Regions from separate parts of the Homo sapiens genome. Here region 2 is linked to region 1. Evidence: promoter capture Hi-C in 16 types of primary human blood cells and fetal thymus (Javierre and others, 2016). All regions are on one chromosome and are shown on one strand. The core of a region is centred on a gene start or on the middle of the fragment in contact, and the rest is flanking DNA. Distances in the headings are between cores, read along the strand shown.

What was found. Contacts are between HindIII fragments. The CHiCAGO score rates a contact against its expected background, and 5 or more counts as called.
Region 2: a fragment that was not itself captured here is called in contact with the fragment with the promoter of KCND2 in region 1 in 3 of 17 cell types (megakaryocytes, M2 macrophages and M0 macrophages); the score reaches 7.1 in megakaryocytes.

The regions. Positions count from the first base shown.
Region 1 is chr7:120,270,712-120,275,314 of GRCh38, reverse strand. KCND2 (potassium voltage-gated channel subfamily D member 2) reads right to left here and starts at 2,140. Exons shown (of 6, transcript NM_012281.3): 1 at 1-2,140. The coding sequence starts at 682. RefSeq lists an enhancer at 1,375-1,444 and silencers at 1,885-2,034, 2,954-3,053. The HindIII fragment of the contact is 3,977 bases long and covers 1-2,314 here.
Region 2 is chr7:119,931,157-119,935,759 of GRCh38, reverse strand. No RefSeq gene overlaps it. Among named protein-coding and RNA genes, the nearest start is that of LINC02476, 26 kb to the right of the region's middle. The HindIII fragment of the contact is 889 bases long and covers 1,399-2,287 here.

The DNA.
Region 1 (4,603 bases), core at 891-3,390:
CCACAGCATACCGCTCTCCACAGGGCAGTTCTTTAATGTGACCTGGGCTTGATCCGCACGGCACTGTTTCCACCACATTCGCGATGACAGAGACGGCAATGAAAAACCCCGTGACATAGTAGAACACCAGGGCCATCGTGCTGGTGTGGGGGTTCTCGAAGGCCCTCCAGACCCTCTGCCTTGCAGTCATGGTGGGCAAGGCGCTCTCCCCAGCGGTGTCGGTATCCGCGTCGTCCTGCAGGCGCTCGGCGTTCTCTCGCCTGCGATCCTTGTACTCCTCATAACAGCAGTCGCCGATGATTTCCGGGATGAGGCCAAAGAAGGCCAGTTCTTCATCGTAAGCAGAGATGCACTCGTGGCGAGGATAGTGGAGCTTCCCAGTGCGGTAGAAATTCAGGATGTGGCGGAAGATGTCTGGGTCACGGTCAAAGAAATACTGCTGAGTTTCTGGGTGGTAGAAAAAGTCCCTCTCAGAACTGCCCAGTAGAGTGTCTGGGTAACGTTCCAGGGTGTCCTGCCACGTCTGGAAGCGGGTGCCACTCACATTCAGCACAATGAGAGCATCTTGGGTCCTTTTCCTCTCCTGCCTCGGGGGAGCCGGCATAGGCCCCGAGGCCACAGGCATCCACCCGATAGCCGCTGCCCTTGCAAAAGGCAGCCACGCTGCCACCCCCGCCGCCATGATTACTTGAAGCGGAAGGAAGAAGGGTAACGAGGCGTCTACAATGGGTCACCGAAGCAGCCAAAAGTCACCCACTTCCTCCAGTCAAGCAAAGTACTAGTGAGAAACGTGGTCCAGAGGTGTAACTCTTATTCCAAGATAGGGCTCCTGGTAAAGTCACAGTTCTCAGAAGGGCAACTTTCCCTCCAAGACAGGTATTTGGAATAATGGCAACAAAATACAACGTCCTAACAATCACCCTCAACAGAACCCAGCCAAATCTCTTCCTGCAGGTGGGCTAGGCCACCCTCTGGCACAAATAAGCACACAGGTGCAGCCGTTTCTTCAAACAGGTGTTTTTGATTTCTCCCCGGCACAGTCTGGATAATATAGGGTCAGTATGTGGAGTGTAGGATAGAGAAGACGAACGAGAGTCACCCAATAGAATTCTTTCGACGAATTAGGGAACCCTTACACCTACCCTTCTCACTCTTTCAAACCTTCCTTTCCAAGTAGCCCTTCCCGCCAAAGGAGTCTCAAAAAGGCGACCTGTTGTTGTAGCTCAGGAGATGCGGTCACAGCCGCTGCCCCACGTCTCTCTTTGGGGGTCCAGCTGCTGCTGCCTCTACTCCTCGGGCTGTATTTGCAGAGATGGAGGTGATGTGCAGTGGTTACGGTGGGGGGCGTTAATAGAGATTCTCCTCCCCCACGTCTACAAACACCCTCTGTGTCTGCCAAAAGCGTTCGCCCAATCGCCCCTTCACTCTCTTTTCAAGTTCAGCTCAGGTGCAGTGTGACAGTTACAGAGCTCAGGAGCTGGCAGCCGCCGCCGCCGTGGCGGCAGCAGCATCTGCTTCCGCGCAGAACGCGCCGCTCCCGCGGTACATACCTGGCCAAGTGCGCGCCGGGGCTTAGTTGCATAGAGACTTTCTCCTCGCCGTGCACCCGGAAAGGGAAGAGGAGAGAAAGCAGCTCGCGAGCAGCCGAATCCGATGCGCCGAGAGAGCATAAATAAAGCTCAAGCGAGCTCTTCTTTCCCTTCCCCCATCCCTCCGTGCCTCCCTCCTCCTTTTCACCTTCCAAAAGCCAGGCGCAGGCGAGCAGAGCAGCAGCAACAAGTTCAAAAGGTGCGGGGGAGGCGAGAACGGAGGGGACTCGCTCCTGCCAACTTACTGCGGGGCCACTGTCGCGGGAGCCTGGCCAGCGCGGTGCGGGGCTGCGGGGCGGCGGGGCTGCGGGGCGGCCGGGCGGGCGGCGTTGGCGCGGTGGGGCCGGGGCCGGGGCCGGCACGGGCTCTCGTCCGAGCGCGGAGGCAGAAGGCGCTCGGCAGCGCGGGGGCGCGGGAGGGCTGCTAGCTGCTTCCCCGCCAGTGGGTGGTCCTGCATCTCCCCGGGCTCCCCGCGCTGCTCTGCTAGTGCGATCAATAAATAAGGAGAAAATAAATAAATAACCGCGCGCACGCCCCGCCACGCAGGTTAGGAAAGGCGTCTCCTGCCTTTCCCTCGGCTTGACCTTTCTCCGCCCCCGCCCCCTCGGGCTCCTCTCGCTCCACCCCAGCCACCCACCAACCCCGGCGCAAAATGTCACCGAGGGAGAGCATCCAGGTGGATCTGCTGGGGAGAAAAGCGAGCCTCGGATGAACAAAGGGAAGCTTCACGTGCTGGGCTGCGGTGGTTTGGTGGAGGAGAGGAGAAAGGGGACCCGTGCCTTGCTTCTGCCTCTCGAGTCCCGGTTCAAGGCGAGCGTGGGAAAATGGGGGGAAAGAGAGCGAGAGAAGCTGGGAAGGAGGGTGAGCGGAGCGGAATGCGCAGGAATTGGTTGTCTTCTGGGGGCGACTGGAAGGCAAGACCCGCAAAGCTCCGACGCGGAATTTTTAAGTGCATTTCCTCTTTCTGTTTTTATTTATTTTCAAAACCAGATTGTTAACGTTGCAGGGATTGATATGCCATCTGTCCAACTTGCCAAAAAATCAGAGACTCTCCTCGATCGAGGTCTTGACACAACTCCTTTTCCCGTCCTTTACGAATAACAGGGATGTGGAGCCCTTTTCTAAATGTCATCGTCAAGGGGCGTGCGTCTCTGAAAGTTTGCGTCCCCTTCATCCTCTCTGCGCATCACTGCGCATATTTAAAATAGTTAAAAGAGTTAAAGGTGTTCGTATGAGGGGTTACTGAGGTAGAGAGACACAGGAAAATTGTCGCTACCAACCTTTTTGTTTTTCGCGTACCCCGCCCCCGAGTCATTAGGAATCATCCTTAAAACCAAACGTAACACATACAAGCCACTAGATGGCGTGGATGGCGAGAAGTTAAATCTGCACCTAAGGTTTGGATGCTTTAGGAAGGTGAAGGATCAAAATTAACTGGTCCAACAGAGAGTCAGATCACATAAACATCCCCAAACCCCTTCGCTGCCACCCACCTTTTTTGTGTTTATGTGACATATACTACTTAGGCTTGAGTCTGCATTTGGATAGTTGTGGGATGAGATGTGGAGAGTTTCCTTTTGAAATTCCTTTGAAAATTAAATCTAGATTACTGAATCATCATCATCATAGTAATTAAGATCTTTGGCAATAATGAGGCTTCATCTGTATTGATGAAGAATAGTAGCCTAATTTCTACCTAAAAATTACTTTTCATGGCTTGGTTTGACTGCCCTTGGTTTGTAAAATAAGTGGACTGTGTGTTGTACTTTACGGAAATTGACTTTTAAGCCCTAGAGATTACAGGCATGATGTGTCAACCTTGAAAATTTGAAATGGGATACGTCAAAGAAAATATATAAACTAAAAAATGAGTATAGAAAATAACCAGAGAATTTAAAATATCCTTATCATGTACAGGATTTTCTGTAGAGATAAAAGGGTATTTTTTGTTTGTTTATTTGTTTACAGAATAGAGATTTAAGGAATCCTGTGTCAGTAGTAATGAAGTCAGAGCTAATGCACCATTTAAGTTTGAGGACAAGGAACTGAAGACACCTGCTCTTTATCTATTTGTTTAAGTGAAAGATGCTTGTTAACCAATCTATATAGCCTGCATACCTGAAAACAAACACACAAGCATGTTACCTGGAAAATGGAAATGAGGGGCTTACTACCAATTAATATAAGAAAACCAACCCCTCGTTAGTCCAAACAGTAAGGTGGCACTATGACAGGTGCTGGGCATGGAATCCAGAGGGTGGAGCGCCATGAATATTTAATCAATGCCAATAATGGCATGCTTTCCTGTAAAGATGGGGCGAGGAACCTAAATAGAGCCTTTAAAACTGTGTGGGAAACTGAATGCTTACAAATGTAAAAGTAGGAGCTTAACTCACAAAAGCCCCAAAGAAGCAAGAACATAATATGTACAGTTTTTAAGAAGGTACTGGGATCTGCCCTCCTGCATCTTCAACAAGCTTCTTGATATAGTGGAAAGAATGTGGGCTGAGAACTTAAACACATCTAAATTCAAAATCTTGCTTAAGAAATTACTTACTGGCTTTGTTTCATTTGGCAAATTACTTCTATGATTAGAAATTATAGATAATGAAATTTAACTTTTCAGGCCTGTCGTGAAGATGAAACAGGATCATACTTCTGAACACCAGTGAAATACTTAGCACATGAAGTGTACTCAATATTGGTTCTTTTTTATTGTAATGCATAATGCTAATGCAATTCATTTTATCCAGCCCGTATTTGGAATTCCCTTAGATACTTTCCATAGTTATGTATTGCTTAATGACAGGGATACATTCTGAGAAATGTGTCTTTAGGAGATTTCATCACTGTCTGAATATCATAGAGCGTACTTACACAAACTTAGGTGGTATAGCCTACTACACACCTATGCTATATGGTACAGCCTATTGCTCCTAGACTACAAACCTGCCATCATGTTACTGTACTGAACACTGTAAGCAATTTGTAACACAGTGGCAAGTATTTGAACC
Region 2 (4,603 bases), core at 594-3,093, 340 kb after region 1:
GATTTTATACTATCATTAATTCTTAATCACTTGAAATGACAACTGAATATTTTTAGTCCCTAAAAATATAACCAAAGCTATTATGTTATTTTAGATAGGATACAGAAGTAATCTAAGGATTCATTTCCGAAATACTGCCATCTTGTGGTATTCTTCACAGAACATCTAACAGTCATTTATGATACGGACTTTGGGTAAAAACAAGAAGGGTACTCTAATGACATAAATAGACCCAAATGAATACCGTGGAAACCTAGAGAGTGAAAATAATCTTTATCTTAAGAACTATGAAAGATCCCCTTAGTATTCATCTGGATGAGGAGTTCCAATACAATATTTTATAAGCAAAAAGAGATAATTTATCTTATTTGTCTATACATTTCTTAATAGAAAATAATTCAAGGAGAAAGTGAATCAATACTAATTTTCTCTCTGGAGAGAAAATACTGTTTTGTCTCAATCCAATTCATTTCAATACAACTACTCACTGAGCATTTTTAATAGAAGGTTTACACATTATTTGGCAACAAACACAGGGCTGTGACTACTCTTTGATTTCCTTTTGGGTCTTTATGACCCAGGTCTCATTTGTGTTATGACTTGTATTATAAAGTTCCAGGGGTTGTGCCTTATTTTTACACCGTTGAGTTGTTTGGCGCTCAGGGTCATCTGAATTATCCTCACTCTCTTCAGCGACAGAATACAGACCTGCAACAGATATGGAAATACACCTCTTAGCTTATAATCTATTTTTTTCACTGAAATGTAATTATTTAATTGTTTACTTATTCACTAGTTTGACCCCTAATTTAGTGCAACTCTTTCCAAAAGCAAAATTTACCACCAATAAAGATGGATAAAGGATATTTGACATGATTTGAAGATCACTTCAAAAATTCTTTAGAAGTTATTGGCAAAACTGCAATCTTCATTTGGATCTATAATCTCTGTTATATTAACTCATTAAGTCAAATGATCAATCATGCTATTTTATGGTTTTATTTTTAGGGGTTCATTAGTTACACAAACATTAAATAAAGATAATGAAGCTATTATAAAACTTAGGGAAAGAGTAGTTTCATGGTCCTTTGCACTGAAAGGTTGCCTAGATCTCTAGTAATGCACCAAAAGCATTTGATAAATTGTGAACATGAGAACAATGTCTGTAAACACTTTCAAGATCAGCTTAGGCGTCCTCTGGTAACTGAAGCAGAAGGAAGCATTTTCAAAGTGATGCCAGAGCAAAATGCCCTTAAGCTTTGAGTATTGAAGCAGTTTTCACACAATAAAAGAAAAACTCCTTATGAGGCAACTTTGCCCTTGCTCTCAAGACACTCTTATTTTCTGCAGCAGAAATTAATGTGAATACTATCAATGAACCCAACCTTGTAATAAGCTTTGCTTATATCTTTGGCAAATGTTTTGTGTTTCTCTGCATCCTGGTCCAAAAATTTCAAGTGCTTTTACTTTCCATGATGAGATATTAACTATAGAGAAACTTCAGTATTTTCCTTCAGGACTGAATCCCTCACCCCGTGGCATAATCAAGAATATTGCTGCCCTTCCTCTTTAAGTCTTTAAATACTCAATTTCAAATTCAAAGTAATCAATTTTAATAGGAGGAAAAAGCATAATGGTTTTGAATAAGTACCAGTGCTGATATGGCAAGACTAAAATAATCTATTTTATTTCATGTATGAGTGATATCTCCATAAATGCCCATTATTGTTAATAATTTAGTTCAAGATACCATTTGAATGTAATCTACAACATGAAAGAAAAATAATTTTTATACATTAAAAACTCCAGGATGATTAGAAATGCCAAAATGAAAAGAATCTTGGCAAATATGCCACCTAAAAGCATAATTATTTTTCAAATAGATAGTAAAACCGATATGCATATGACATTAAATATATAACTCATGCACATGGTATTAAATACATAGGTGAAAAGACACCTTATTATATTATAGTGCTCTTCAATACAAGTTCTCATTGCACCTAAAAACTTTCTATACTAATTATATTACCATAAAAAATTACAGATTGACTTAAATGCCCAATACTTCCAGTAAGCATGACGATTTTAAAGTAATTTAAATCTCTCAGTGCAATTCTTTTTGAAATATATGTATATATTAACTATTCGATATTTGAACACATGTCGCCATAAGTTCTTAAAAATATGTATTTATATGCATAAACAAGCATGTTTTATAGAAGAGAAGTGCTTCTGAATGTAAAACCAAGAAGACACTTAAAACCATATGTATTTGACTAAAGCTTAAGAAGGACTGAAATATGCTCTTAAATTATTAGACTGTATTTATTATTTTTTTAGACATAATGAAAATTTTTTGCTGAATTCTATCCTTGTCACTTGTTTGTGACAAGTTGTGTTTATTCCTGATTTATTTAAATATTGAGCCTGTCTTTCTTTGCCAAGGGATTTCTAGATTTTAGCTTATATATTTTTCATCCTTTTCTTTATCCCAATCTTTGCCTGAAACAGCATTTTTCAAATTTTGCATTTTTCCTTAAGTACAAACCTTTTTTATACTGCTTATTTTTAGCATTTTTTGTATTTTAATATCATTCAAATGGCAAACACTATGTTGCTTCAAATGAAAAAAAATTATCATGTAAACAATTTGCTATATATTATTAATATTTTATATATTTAACATTGTTAATGACAAGCTATTGGTTTGATAATGCTTTCCTATAAGCAAGGAAGGAGCTTTTGCATGTTCTAATTATAAGAAAAATGCTATTAATTCCATTGATAACTATTAATATGATTCAAATGTTAACATAAATGTTATGTGTTGTATAGCATCGATTATGTTGAACAGACATAAATTCACTTAGTCATTAATCTAAAACAACTATCAGTGAATATTAATCATTATATAGTGGATAAGAGTAGCTAATATAATTAGGCATATGATAGAATTAAGTTATTTTCTAATACCCTTTACTGCCTTGTATAACTTAGTAATAAATCTAACAAACAAGCAAACTAAGTTGAATTTTTCAAGATTTAATCAAACTGGACATAATCATTATTGTTACATTTCTGTTATTCTAGCTAATTTAAATTTCCTTTTGTCCCCCTCATTTTTTTTAATTAGTCTAGACAACGGCCTAGATATATTAACATTACAATAATTCTGCAAATTAATCTATATGGCATGTTTTTACCTTTATCTTCCCAATAGGAATGAAAGAATAATATGTGTGTGTGTGTGTGTGTGTGTGTGTGTGTGTGTGTGTGTGTGTGTGTTGAGTTTCTGTTTATAAGGTATCTGGATGATACCTTATAAACATTATTCTTTTAATGAGGTTCTATAAAAATCAAAATACAGGAACCAATATATGACATAATTTGCATTGGAGAAAATGAAATCAATAATGTGGGAGTTAAAACTGAGAAAATGCCCTAGAATGACAAGTCAAAGTATAACAAAAGAAAAGATGATAAGAAATCTAAAACATGTGTGTAGTAAATATCATAAGTAATTAGAACTTTACAGAATAAATATCTTTAATTTTTGCCCCTTCAAACGAGTTTTCCTGAGTATACATTTCCTGTCTCTTGATGACATCTTGGGCTTATTCTTAAGTTGTCTATTCACGTACACTAATAAGAATGATATCCCTCTAATAATCAAAATTCACTTTGTAATTTAAAACGTTCACTGCAGTCTGAACCATCAGTTCGATCACATACATATCCAACTCAATGCTTAGTGCCTTACTTTATCTGAGAGACTTGATTTGTTGTCAGATATATCAGCACTAGGAAAGAGAATCAATTTCTCCTTTCGTTCTTTACTTTTCTCTTCTCTTCTCTCAGCTTACATATTATTTTGCTCTTTTTCATTTGCCAAGGAAAAAGAAAGGTAAAAGGAGATATAAAAACTACATATGTTTTGCTTTTTGATATGCATTCCAATTTTAACTTTCTTGTGGAACATAGGTGTGGTTTCTTCCAGAGGCTCTGTAGGAGCTCCCCCATTGAAGACTGCCCTGATATGAACAATCTTCCTGGTTGAGACTGCTTACTAAGCACTACCTCTAGATCTCACTCTCCACAGTATCTATCACAATCTCTAGCTGTGGGGGGACCCTTTCCCTGGTGATGAGCCTTTCAACATGGAGCCCTGATAAGAGAGCCCAAGTACAGCTACTTTCTTTGACATACACACAGTCCTTTGTCCAGTATGTATTCTTGCCATTCCAAAAGGAGGAAAAGTGGCTCCATCTTTGGCCCCCTTCACCCGCAGTATTACACAGTCTTCCAGGAGTACATGATAGGCTCTCTCAAGAATGTACTCACCACACTTTTTCCCATGGCAACTCTGCAGTGGCCTTATGAGCCACAGACAGATGCCTGAAATTTTGTGGGCATCCTCAAAATCCATTACAATTTTTGTGCACTCAGCATGAGTTGGCTTGGGAAGGAAACACTTATTTCTTTATTCAAGGCAAGGATATGGGAAAGAAAAGAAGAAAGAAAAAATAAAGGAAGAAAGAAAGAAAGCTCCCAAACTTAGTAAATATTCCTATTTAATATGTGAAATTGAATCTAATTAATG